2 separate regions of the Homo sapiens genome follow, and region 1 is linked to region 2. Evidence: promoter capture Hi-C in human tissues and cell types (Jung and others, 2019). All regions are on one chromosome and are shown on one strand. Each heading gives the region's core, a stretch centred on a gene start or on the middle of the fragment in contact. The rest is flanking DNA. Distances are from core to core; before and after follow the strand shown. Region 1 has its middle 10 kb from the start of LINC02695. Region 2 holds the start of SYTL2 (synaptotagmin like 2).

Region 1 (6,885 bases), core at 2,819-5,318, 370 kb before region 2:
ATTCAGAATGGACACAATGCGATTTTACCAGTGTTATTCAACCTGTTACAAGGCACACATTTTCAAAGGCTGTGCAGGAACAGTATGTGAAAATGGCTTCATGAATGTGCTGTCCTCCACCCTTCCAAGTTCTTGGCTTGATCTTGCTAGAGAATGGAGCCTAAGCGGGCCTGCATCTGGGTAAATTGTTTCCTCCTTGAAAAGGGCAGAGGCAAATGTCAGTAATGCCAAGAGGGCTGTTTTTGAAATCATTCTTGTGGGATTGGAAAGCCTCTCTCGACTCAGGAGCCAGGCTCTCAGTCCCACCACGGAGTCAGGCTTTGAAAGTAGCTCATATCTGCTTCCCCCATATAGTCTCACATTTTTGGCAGAACCTCTGGGTTCTTTCTCTCTTGGAAGACATTTCCTTCTTGTAATCTCCTCACTCTTTGTATGAAACCCCTGAGGTCAAAGGGGAAGAAGAGTAAGGTCTCTTCTTCATCACCAGATTTTCAAAGAACTGTTTCAAACCAACAGCAATAACAGCACCTGCCAACTGCCAATCGTTGGCACTTTGCAAACATTATCTAAGTTAATCTTCAAAAGTCCTTGGAATACTTGGAAGGCAAGTATTTTTTATTCCCATTTTATCTTTGAGGAAATCAAGGCTCAGAGAGATTTTAGTCAGTGGCTGAGCCATTATTTAAACTCAGGTCTAGCTGGCCGTGGTGGCTCATGCCTGTAATTCCAACATTGGAAGGTTAAAATGGGAGGATCGCTTGAGCCTAGGAGTTTGAGATGAGCCTGAGAAGCATAGCAAGACTATGTCTACAAAAAATAAAAAATAAAAAAGTAGCAGGGTATGGTGGCATGTGCCTATAGTCTTAGCTTCTCTGGAAGCTGAGGTGGGAGTACTGCTTGAGCCCAGGAGTTTAAGGTTACAGTGAGCTATGATTGCACCACTGTACTCCAGCCTGGATGACAGAGTAAGACCACCATATCTAAAAAACAAGCCAACAAACAAACTCAGGTCTGAGTATATGCTTTCATCTAAAATAGCTAAAAACAACAAAAGCAGCAATAACTTTTGCCAACATCACTCTGCACTAGAGAGTTTGGGGAGAGCCAAGGAAGAAAATCCTGGCTTGAACAATACCCTCATATTGCTTAGACCTTAATCATACTAATTTTAGACCTTAATTGTAGTAGCATATGTGTTGTGCTTGGTGGCAGTAGGAAAGGACTGAGCAGGAAATACCGGACCCAGATTCTGGCTGGTTAGAAAGAGTAACAGATACCAGAGGTGGCTCTGCTTCTAATGCTCTTTCATTTCTCTCTCTTTCCGTCCTTCAAGACCCATCTCTGTGAAAACTTTCCTGACCACCCACATGATCCCCAGCATTAATCCTTTATTTTGTGCTCCTGTTGAATTTTGTTACATCTCAGTTATAGCCCTTTCTTATCATATTTTATTTTAATATACATTTCCTAACTGGCTAGAGCACCTTGAGGCCAGTACCAGTGTCAAAGTCCTCTTTGTACCCAGCACCTTGAACAGTTCCTGGTTAATAAAGCCTCAAGTCAATGTTGCTACTCAATAAAACATGACCTTCTCTTTATCTTGGTTTTTCAATTTTGAACCAGTATCCTCACTTTCCCTACATTCTGACTTGGATGGAACTTACATTCTTCTTGGCTGCCCAGCGTCTGAGCCCCCTTCCTGTGTCTGGGGAAACTGCCATTGCATGAGACATGCTGGGAGGTAGAATGTGTCTTCCCCTGATGGAAGCTGGAAAACAGGCCAGACGGTTGGCCTCCTGGGTCCCTGGCAGCTGGCGCACAAGCATATGACCTAATCTTGGCCCCCCTGATATTACTGCCTGAGACTCTAAGTTTGAAGCAAATGACCCAAGAAACTCGGACGGTTTAGAATTTGTGCTGGTGGCAGCACTGGTGTCCACTGCTCAGTGGGAGAGGAAGCAGCATTTTCACCAGGATGTTTCTGAGGTGTGGTCTTCCCCATGGTTCTTTTTCAGTTCCTGTCCATTTTCCTAGCTTGATTCTCTAGACTGCTTATCAATTCTGTGATCATCCTGCTATCTCTTTAATAAACTCTTTTTTGACTAAGATAGTCAGAGTTAGCACCTGTTACAACAAAGAGCCCTGACTGATGGACTTGGTGGCCTCACAGTACATGGTCCTGGGTCCTGGGAAACCAAAGGCCCACTTCTTCCTGATTCAAAATCAAGGCAGAGATACAGAATTACTCCTTAGTTTGCCATACTTTTAACTTTTCACATTCATTATTACATTTCATCCTCACAACTCTAACAGTAGGCAAGTGGGGTGGGTAATAAAATGAGGTTTTAAAATGAGAAAAGTGAAGCTCAATTAGTCTAGATGGCTTCCCTGAGGTCCCCAAACTGATGGCAGAACTCAAACTACAATCCAAATCTTCTGATTCCCAGCCAAAGGCTCTTTATAGGTAAATAACACTGAATTAGTTATGTTTTGACTTTTAAAACATTCATCCAAAAATATTCATTAAGTATCCATTATGTGTCAATCATTGATGAGGACAACAGACTCCCTCTATTCTAGGCTCAATACTATGGTTTCTGAAAAGTACTGTAAGTATCAGTATAAATATGTATATTAATAATACTCTACATTTGGGAAAGAGTATAATACTGTTGTTAAACCTAAGCCAGGCTGCTTGGGACCAAGCCCTTGCTCCCCTCCTCACTGTTTGTGCATAGCACATGCTGTCAATGTTCTGCCCATAACCTCTCAGCCCTCCCCTGTGCACCCTGAAGTCTGCTTACTGAGAACCCTTGTGACTCACTGCCTGAAGAGCACGCTGGGGCCCTGTGCAAGGGAAGCTGGGATTTCCAGAGTTAATATCTGAGAAATAGTCCTCAAACAGTGACAGATGGAGATTTGGAGAGAAACACCCCAGCTTCCTTGCCTCTTGGGGGAAATACTTCAGAGGCATATTCCTCTCTGTCTTCCCACATTTCCCAGTGGGATTGAGCTCCAGGTACCCTCAGTGGTAACGTCTTTGATAGCACACACTTTATCGGCTCCTTCTCTTCTGCACCTCGCTTCCCCACTTTCTGACTGGGGTTTCCTAGGATCGTCCACCAAATAAACTACCTTTGCTTGAATCCTTTTCTCAACGTCCACTTCTGAGAGAACCCAAACCAAGACACCATGAGACCTTGGGACTATGACTCAATAAGGCCCTGTAAAATGAAGATTATATTTCCTGCCTCATAGAGAGACACGTTCATGACACCAAGTAGCCTAGCTCCTGGTTTCACATAATCAACACTCCCTGTTCACCACTGTTGTGTCTGTAGCACTGTTTGTTTTCAGAGCGCTTGCCCACATGTCTTCCTTCTCAATCAGAGGAGTTTCATCTCTTACCACCCCACCACACCTGCCTGGCTCCATGCCAGATGCAGTTCTTTACTTCAGCCCTGCCCTCCCGTTTACATGTGTCTGAGATGACCACATTCCTTCACGTATTTGTGACTCAGCACATGGTGCTCTCCTTGCCTGGGTATACTTCCTCCTCCCCACATTTATCTCCTGCCTATCAAGTTCCCGCCCCAGGTTGACCTCCTCTAGGAAGCTTTCCCCCATTCTCTTCCCTTCCTCTTCTCTTCTATCCACACCGTGCATGCCCACACACCCACACACTGGGGCATTCAAGGAGGGCACCTCACCCAGGCGTGCTCTCTCCATCACTGCATATGGACCTAGAACTGTAGTTATTGGGCTTTCCTACCTGCCTGCTTTGCTAGACTGTGAACATCTGTCTAGCAGGGACTGTATCTTTTATTTCTATATTGCTGGTGCATAGCCTAGTGCCCATCTCAAAAAATGTGAAATTTTTCAGTTGAGGAAACAGAGGCTTAAAAGTTTAATTGACCCCATTAGAGTTCATACAATTAATACATGGCAGAACAAGAACTCAAAACTGATCCCATGGCTTCAAAGTTGAACATTTTTCCTACAATATCATAGCTGTGAGGATTTTTGTGCTAGAGATGCACTGCATATTCTTCCCAACATCACATCTCTTCTTAGAAAATAAACTCCATCCACAGCCTTGGAAGAAGGGCAGTTTTCCATTCAAAATGACCCAGTCTCCAGCTATAGCTGACTGGCTAGGAGTGGACATCTGACCAAAGAGAGAGCCAAGTCAGACCATCTCTCCTGAGAATCTAGAGAGATAGGATCAGTTGGCTACAGGCACTGGACCTATATGGTGGCAGACAATAAGGGCAACAGAGGGTGACATTTTGGGACTTCCGTTTTGGGTCATGTCATCTGATGAGCTGTGAGAGTTGATCTACCATAAGAAGTATAGACAGAACACGGTGATGATGATGATGATGAGAGATACAGAAACAGGGAGACCATCTTCTTCCATTTCCAGTCCTTCATGAGGTTGGGTTCTGTGAGATATACTTAATCCTTCATAAATACATTTCCTGTCTCTTAAGCTAACTCAGTTTTTTCTCTGTCTTTGAACCATATACAAGATAGCCTGTTCTCTGCAACAGAGACAAACCCTGAAGGAGCTGAAGGCTGTCTGCTGACCATATTTCCCCTGACAGAATAGCAAGTCCTTCCTAGAAGGGGAATCTAGCCAATGGGTCTCCTTGTCTATGACACCAGGTGAGGGGTATGCCATGATTATGGTTAGAGCAACCCAGATAGTCACTAATGTGTTCACCTGAGGTCAGCAAATTCATGCTTTGCCACCTAAGAGTCTGTTTTTGAAAATAAAAATTTTAATTTCATCTTTTAAAAATTAGTTATGCATTAACATTACAGATTAAAATACACCTAAAGAGCAAATGAAAGATTTAATTATAAGCACGGTGATTTTAGTATTTACACAATTTGGCACCTATCTCTATACCTCTTATGATTATCTAGTGTATGTAATATTGTCTGGGTTCTTCTATACATCTCCCTTCAGCCATGAATGCAACACACAGTTATAACTATATGTGAGCCCGTTAAAGGGTAAGTCAGATCATGTCACATCTCCAACCATAAGGTGCCACATGATCTCGCCATCTGTTGTGTAACTTCTCTGATCCAATCTCCTATGACTTCCTCCCATGTGACATTGGCCTCCATCTTCCTTCAACATGCCAGGCACATACCCGTTTCATGGCTGGATTAGTTTTCTAGGGCTGCCATTGCAAAGTACCAAAAACTGAGTGGCTCAAAACAACAGAAATTTACTGTCTCACAGTTCCGGAGGTGAAAAGTGTTAACCAGGGCCATGCTCCCACTAAAACCTGTAGGAGAGAACTCTTGCCTGCCTCTTCTGAGATTCTGGCCATGGCTGTCAACTCTCGGCATTCCTTGGCTTGCAGTTGCATCCCTTAAATCTCTCTTTTGTCATCACACAGCATATTCCCTGTGTCTCTCTGTCTCTGTGTCCTCTCATAAAAACACCATTCATATTGGATTAGGTCCCACCCTAATGACCACATCTTCACTTGATCTGCAAAGACCCTGTCTTCAAATAAGGTCACATTTCACAGGTACCAGGGCTTAGGACTTCAACATATGTTTTGGCGACGGGAAATAATTCAACCCACAACAATGGCCTTTACAGTTATTTCTCTGCTTAGAATGCTTTTTCTTCAGTTGTCTACACTGTTCACCTTCTCTTGTGCTTCCGGTCTTTACTCAAATGTTACTTACTTGGCAAGGCCTTCCTTAGCCACCTTATCTGAAATCACAACATCTGTTCCCCAGCATTTGCTAGTCCCCTTCCCTGCTTTATTTTTCTCTTTACCACTTGTAATTAGCATATTATATGTTGTATTTCACGTATTCATATTGTCTCTTGTCTGTCTCCCCTGGTAGCATGAAAACTCCAGGAAAGCAGGGATTTTTGTGACTTTTGTTCATGGTTATGTTGCCAGCATGTACAATCAAGCCTGGCACAAAGGATACTTGTTGAACGTATAAAAGAATCTCCATGTCCAAAGCCCGATATTTAGAGCTCTAAGACTTTTGCAGCTTCACCAAGAGTCAGACCTTCTCCTATAGCCACAAGCTTTAACTTCCTAACAGGAAGCCAGATGTCGTAGTTCCCCACACTGAGGACTTAGAAAGAAAAACTTATCTCAGCCCCAAAGGTCTGGTTGTTGGAACTCCAGTCCACCAAGTATATTTGAAGGAAAAACAAGGCAGTGTCTCCCCTATCTGGTCTTTTGCTTAATTTATGAAACAAAACAGAAGGGCCTGGTGCGGTGGCTCACGCCTGTAATCCCAACATTTTGAGAGGTCGAGGCAGGCGGATCACCTGAGGCCAGGAGTTTGAGACCAGCCTGCCCAACGTGGTGAAACCCCGTCTCTACTAAAAATACAAAAATTAGCCAGGCGTGGTGTTGGGTCTGTAATCCCAGCTACCCGGGAGGCTGAGGCATGAGAATCCTTTGAACCCAGGAGGCGGAGGTTGCAGTGAGCTGAGATCATGCCACTGCACTCCAGCCTGGGCGACGGAGCGAGACTCTGTCTCAAAAAAAACAAACAAACAAACAAACAAACAAAAACAGAAGGAAAGGGATTAGGGCTAGGGAATCTCTGTTTGCCAAAATAGTCTTTCCCAGTCATAACCTTTCTGTCTACCTGATGAGTTTTCCGTCTTTGCCAGGCTTCCTTCTCTCTCCTCTGATGTAGATCTATGGTTTTGCGAGGTCCAGTATTATGAAGACCTTTATGTGCAGCGGCTCCTCTAGCAACTGGCACTCATCCAGCTACATCAGAGTTCTAACGGGACTCTTGGGTTGTAAAACTTTCAGCTTGTGGTCTTGTGATGTTTATTTTGTGTCAACCTGGCTGAGCTGCAATGCCCGGATATTGGTC
Region 2 (6,719 bases), core at 3,653-6,152:
CAGGCATGCACCACCACACCTGGCTAATTTTTTGTACTTTTGGTAGAGATGGGGTTTTACCATGTTGTCTAGGGTGGTCTCGAACTCCTGAGCTCAAGCAATCCACCAGCCCTGGCTTCCCAAAGTGCTGGGATTACAGGAATGAGTCACCGTGCCCAGCCAGTTTTTCTTTACTTTTTAAAGGAAGGCCATATGAAAATACATACACAGGGTTATAAATTATAATATATGAGATTGTTGCTCATAAAGATGATACATAATGATGCCACAGTTTTCATGAATATATGAAATACCTCTGGTGTAGTAGATCCGTGGGTCCTAACCTTGACTTTGTCATTTGCAATTTGGCCTTGGTTTAAGGGCCTGATCCTCTCATGTGCCTCCTATCTTCATCTGTAAAATGCAGACACTAATAGCTGCGCTTCCTACATCATAGGGTTGAATGAAGATCAAACAAGATAATCAAAGTGAAAGGGCTTTGAAAAATACAAAGAGCTGTAGAAGTTCAAGGCATTATTAAAGACTGTGGAGAGATTGCTAACACAATTTGATTCAAGGCCAAAGTTTTATACTTTTGAAAGTTAAAAGAATATTCAGTATTTACAAATTATTTAAAAAACCAAATTCTTGCTTTGGTGACTCAGTACCATGACTAAATTGTGTTTTAAATGCTGTACATTTGATACGTAACTGGTATAAGTCATCTAACCACATTACCATGCCAGATATAATTATATAGCATTTTAGCAATATCTACAATTTCTGGTGGTTAAGAAGTTATAAATTCACATAGCTTAAAGACAAAGTCATGTCTTTAAGAGAAAGGTTCTTTTACTTTTTCATTGTGGCAAAAGTGCTGCTCTTTGTAACATGCATACTATGAGAGACCTGTTTGTCAATGCAACTTATCAAGCATTTATTTAGTGCCTATTGTGTATAAGTCATTTTGGGTATCAATGAGGTGGGGAGAAGGATGGAGGTGGTAAGAAGAAATACAAGAGAAAGAAGGGGTCCCAGAAGTGGGTGAGCTTTAAAACTAGTAGGGGGTGGCAGATCCTGTGACAAGTAACTATAAAGACAGGATGAAATCGATGCCAAGAAAATGCTTGAGGAATACACCATGGGAATTGGAGAGGTTGCAAGGATTAATTTTTTCAGTCTAGGAGGGTGAATCTGGTGACACTTGTCCTAGGCCTTGATGCATAAGAAGGATTCCTTGGGTCAGAAACAGAGGGAAGGATATTTCAAGCTTGAAGGAACCACACCTAGCTTATGCTACCAATAAATATTTACTTACTAGCTGATAAAACTAAACGATTTAGCAATGTGCCTGTGACTCTACAAAGTCACAGGTGGTGTTGGGTGGTGTTAGGGGTTAAATTTCAGATTATCATTTAAAAGCACCAGCCTTCCACCATTCCAAGAAGGCAGCTCAGAGAGTGGTCATACTCAATTCTGCAAACAATATTCCATTTTGTTCAGTTCCATAGAGCTACAAGAATCTTATCCTTGTTCAGACAGGGGTTCTCAACTTAAATAAGTCTACCTACAAAACTCTTTCAGGCCCATGCCCTACCTGCAGTTTTCTAAGCTCACTTCTACTCCTGTCCCAGTTAGTTTTCACAGATCCAGCACCAACCTTTACATGTAGGTTTAGTTTTTTCCAGGATTACATTTCCCCTTTCCAATATATTAGTTACAGTCACATACACTGAAGGAGGGGGACAATAAAAGCTTACATTCAAATGTGACCAAGGTAGATGTTGAAGGAGGGCTACAAGTTAGGTCATCTGGAAGGGGTGACAGAAAACTGGGGTGCAGAGAGGCAGGCAGAGGCATGGAGATTATTCTTTCCAAAAACTATAATAACTCTCTTCCAACCATTATCACACCATTAGCTAACAGGAATTGAGATCTTACCTTGGGCCAGGCAATATGCTATATGTGTTATGTGTTATCTCCTTGGCATGGGGCAGGTAATATGACTACTTCTATTTTATAGAAGAACAATCGCTAACAGAAGTTAAGTGACTTAGGCTGGGTGCAGTGGCTCACGCCCGTAATCCCAACACTTAGAGATGCTGAGGCGGGCAGATCGCTTCAGCTCAAGAGGTCAACATTGCGAAACCACGTCTCTACTAAGAATACAATAATTAACTGGGCGTGGTGGTGTGTGCTTGTAGTCCCAGCTACCTGGAAGGCTGAGGTGGGAGGATGGCTTGAGCCTGGGAGGTTGAGGCTGCAGTGCGCTGTGTTTGTGCCACTGCCTGGGCAACAAAGTGAGACCCTGCCAAAAAAGGAAGGAAGGAAGGAAGGAAGGAAGGAAAGGAGGGAGGGAGGGAGGGAGGGAGGAGACTTGTCTAAAGTCACCCAGAGAAAGAAGGAAATTAAGTGACTTGTCCAAAGTCAACCAGCGAGTTCTGTGGTAGAGCCAGGAGATACACCAAAGTCTGTGCATTTAACCTTACACCATGCTATCCCTACCCTCTTGCCTTCCCCTTCAATGTCAACCTAGAATTCTCTAAAGTTTAAGTGTCACTTATATGTAAACCATTTTGAAGGGTTCCTATGGGATAAGTGGAACAGGCCATTGCTGACTTGATATGATCGTGTTAACCAAGGCTTTTTCAGTGCACTGTATGTGCAAGGCATCATGCTAAACATGTGCATCTTCTTTTAATCTTCACAGTAGGCCTGAGAGAGCAGTGCAATTATTTTCTCTCTAACAAATGAGCAAACTGAAGCACAGGGAGGTTGAGTAATTGGTCTAAGGTCTTATTAGAAATTGACATTTCTAACAGCATTTGGATCTTGGCCAAGAGCTCTAAGATTTAGTCTCTGAGCCATACAAGATTTAGATGAATTGGGAGCCATAACAAGACCCTGCCTTAAAATTTCTCCCCCACTTGCCTGCCCCACAACCTGAAGCAAGGATCCTGTGACCCTCTCTAGCATTTAGGCATTGCTATTTGTTTCCAGGGGACGAGTGATACTGGGAACAGCATGTATTTAGTTCCTTCAAAGTCCTATGCCAGATGATACAAGGCACCCAGAGGTGAGCAAGACCCAGTGCCTGCCCTCCAGAGCTAGAGAGGGGCAGGAAGGGGATAACCAAGGCAGGTGCAATCAACAATAAAAGTGAAGTACCAAAAGCATCTGAGGTCACGCTACTCCCCTGCCTAAAATCATTCGCCAACAGCCATCACCAACAGGACACAGCCTGCTTCCCTCAGCAAGGCAGGTACAGCCACTCCTCCAACATCTGCCCACCTACCTCCTTAGCTTCATCTCTGCCTCATTGTCCCAAATCCTGTGCAATAGCCGTGACATATGACAGGCATCTCCATGTCTCTGCCTGCCTCTCTGTGCCCAGTCTTCTGTCACCCCTTCAATCTGACCTAATTTGTAGCCCTCCTTCAAGACCTACCTTGGTCACATTTGTATTTTTTATTGTCCCCCTCCTTCAGCGTAGTGACTCTACAACACTTTGTCAACCTATTATAACACTTACCCTAAAATGAAATTATTTACAAATTTGTTTCTTCAAAGGCAAGACCAGTGGCTTATTCCTCTTTTGCATGTGGCATGCTCACCCAGCACAGGGACACACCAGGCTCTCAAAGGCTGAAGGAAGCCAGAATACACATCTCTGCACAGTGCCAGGACTCTTGGGCCAGGCTAGCAGCCTGCACTGGGCACTAACTGAAGCCCTTGGGGATAAGTATTTGTAAGTTTGGGAGAAGGAAGACCTTTGGAAGAACCAAAGGCAGACCTGGGCCACCCTCAGTTAAATGGACAACACTAGTCCAGGAAATGATAAGGAAAAAGGCTTTAAGGTTCATCTCCTTCAGAGGTTTGCCTGGGCTGGCCCCATCATGGGTAACTTGTAAAAAATAGGTCGTGATACAATTTTTAAATTATTTTATTTATTTTTTTGAGACAGAGTCTTGCTCTGTCACCCAGGATGGGGTGCAGTGGTGCGATCTTGGCTCACGGCAGCCTCCACCTCTCGGGTTAAAGCGATTCTCCTGCCTCAGCTTCCTAAGTAGTTGGGACTACGGGCGCTCGCCACCACACCCAGCTAATTTTTCTTTTTTCTTTTCTAATTAGAACAGAGTTTTGCTATGTTGGCCGGGCTGGTCCCGAACTCCTGACCTCGGGTTATCCACCTGCCTCGGCCTCCCATAATGCTGGGATTACAGGTGTGAGCCACCGCGCCCGACCACAATATTGTATTTACTGTATTGCATTGTCTGCCTCCCTGCCACACAGCGTCTTCCAGGAGCTTACCAGTCCTCTGTGCATACCCCAGTAAGTAGCTCAGGCAGTGCATGACGCCCTCACCTTTCTCTAGGTATTATTGTATTTTAAAGCATCACTTCATTTAGTCCTCTCAACAACTTTTTTCCCCCCTTCTTCTATTTCACATGTGAGGAAATTGACGTCCCGAGGGTTAAAGCAAGTTACCCCATGACCGGGCTCCATACCCTCCGCGCCCCTTTCCCTGCGCGGTGGCTGTCCCTTCTCGGAGTGCAGAGGCTCCTAGTGCTCCACACTCTCGGGCTCCAAGGCCCCCTAACGCGCCGTGATAAAAATAATAATAACAATAACAACAGTGCTGCTTTATTTGCACAGAAAACAGGTTGTTTCGGGGCAAGGTACACTTGAGAAGGAGGCTAGGAACCGGAGAGAAGCAGCAGGCGGGGGCGGAGGGCGAAGGGAGGGAAGGGGAGAGGGCAGGGGCTGGCAGGCGCTGTGTGCCGGGCGAGGAGGCCGGGGCGGGCCGGGGCGGGGAGCGGGCGAAGCGCCATTGGCCCGAGCACCCGGGACCGGCCCCACCGCACCGCCCGCCGGGGGCGGGGGTAGCGGGGAGGGACTCGCGCACGCCGCTCTGCGTTGACAGTGCCGGGCGACACCCGGGCCGTGCCGCCAGCGTCCGTCGGGAGAGTGAAGGCTCGCAACGCCTTGCCCGGGGGAAGGTAACGCGCCGCGCCCGGGGCTGCGCGGTTTGCACCGCCAGGCCGAGGGCTGGGGGCCAGAAGACAAGAGAGACGGCGAGGCGCGCTCCCTGCCCGGCAGCGACTCGGAGGTGCGCACTCGGGTTCCAGTCTCTACTTGGCCCACTCGCTGTGTTACCTCGGGCAACTTTGTTTCCCTCTCTTGGTCTCTGCTTCCTCCTCTGTTAAGTGAGGGAGGTGGTGTAGAATGTTGTTCCTTAGTCTAACCAGTTCTAAAATGGGAACTGCGTTTTGGCACGGGGAAAGCTCCTTTCCTCAGTTTCCCACCTACTCCAGAGCCACCTCCGCTGCCCAGGCGGCCAGGAAGCTGGGATGCCCGGGTAGGCGAGGGTTCTGCTGAGCTATCGCGTTTTCTAGGGCTTTCAGGGACTGACCTGGGCTTGGGGCTGGGTGCTGGGGAGACCTGGCTGCAGAGTAACTGCCCCCAGATTGCTCAGGTGCAGAAAGGTAGGAGCGTCAGCACCTGTTTACAGGTGGGGTGTTGGGAAGGGCCGGCCAGGGGATGATGATTTCTCCTTTGAAAATAAGACGTGTTTTGGAATTCTCTTCCATACCCACACCTCGTCCCACGGCGAGCTATAAACTACACGAGTGGGCTTTATCATCCTTTGAAGTGGAAAAGCGACTGTTTTTAGCGTCTAAGACACAGGGCTCCACCAGCATATAGGAAGTGGGTCTCTCTTTCTCTGCACCCATCCTGCCGCGTCTTCCCTTTCTTTCCTCCTCTCTTTATAAATCCCCTTTGACCTTGAGGGGCTCCACTTCCTGCCTTAATGAAAAGTTCTTCTTTTCATTTAGTGCTGGTTTGTGACCAGCAGCCTCCAGGGCTTTGGGCGCAGGGTTGAGATAGAAGCCTAGATAAGAACAGGCTATGAATCACCCTGTCAGCCCCCTGAGCCACACAGCCCGGCAGGGATGTGCAGAGGAAGCCCGGTGGGGCTTCAGACAGATAGACCCTGGAAGGTGGGGTGGATGCAAACTGCCATCCAGCTTCCCGTCCCCTTGTTGGCAGCCATTCCCCACCAGGATGGTGACCCCTGCTGTCTGCTGGATGGAGCAGCCAGATAGAGTAGGATGATTGAAAGGAGCTGAGGACTTGGCTGGATTTCTATGGAAGGTCTCCAGCATTTCCCTTCCCTCACTTTCCTCCACCCCTGAAGTTCTGCCCCTTCTCACCCTTAGTGTGGTATCCAGGTGAAATCAGATTGCAGAACCCATCAAGAGCAGCTAGGAAGGAGAAGAGGTGTGGGGACGGCAGCAGGGCAATGTTGACTGCTGTTTAGTGGGCACTTACTATGGGCCAGACACTTCTTTGTATGTAATATATCCTTAATTCTCACAAAGCCACATGAGGGGTGATGTACTATACCCTATTTTATAGGTGAGAAACAGGCTCAGAAAGATTGCTTCCTTTAGTCACTTAGCTAGGAAGTAGCATAGCTGGAATTCAAATCCAATCTCTGATTCTAAAACCTGTGTTCTTTACACTGTCTTTGTGCTCCTTAAGTAAGAGCAAGCTGGAATAAGGAGAGCAAAAATGTCTAACATTGTGTTCTCACCAGGTGTCAGGCACTATGCAAAACATCTTAGAGCTATTATGTCATTTATGGTGCAGGAGTTTCCGTTATTCTGGAGGTAATCTGTGACTGCCTTAGCCTCTCAGCAGCAGTACTGTTCTAGAAGGCCTACCCTAATCCTGCC

The links. Contacts are between HindIII fragments. The study calls those that stand out against the background at their distance.
Region 1: a fragment that was not itself captured here is called in contact with the fragment with the promoter of SYTL2 in region 2 in 1 of the 25 tissues and cell types used here (liver).

The regions. Positions count from the first base shown.
Region 1 is chr11:86,179,851-86,186,735 of GRCh38, reverse strand. No RefSeq gene overlaps it. Among named protein-coding and RNA genes, the nearest start is that of LINC02695, 10 kb to the left of the region's middle. RefSeq lists a cis regulatory region at 2,679-2,953. The HindIII fragment of the contact is 5,124 bases long and covers 1,507-6,630 here.
Region 2 is chr11:85,809,324-85,816,042 of GRCh38, reverse strand. SYTL2 (synaptotagmin like 2) reads left to right here and starts at 4,902. Exons shown (of 20, transcript NM_206927.4): 1 at 4,902-5,089. RefSeq lists a silencer at 4,764-4,943. The HindIII fragment of the contact is 9,754 bases long and covers 1,493-6,719 here.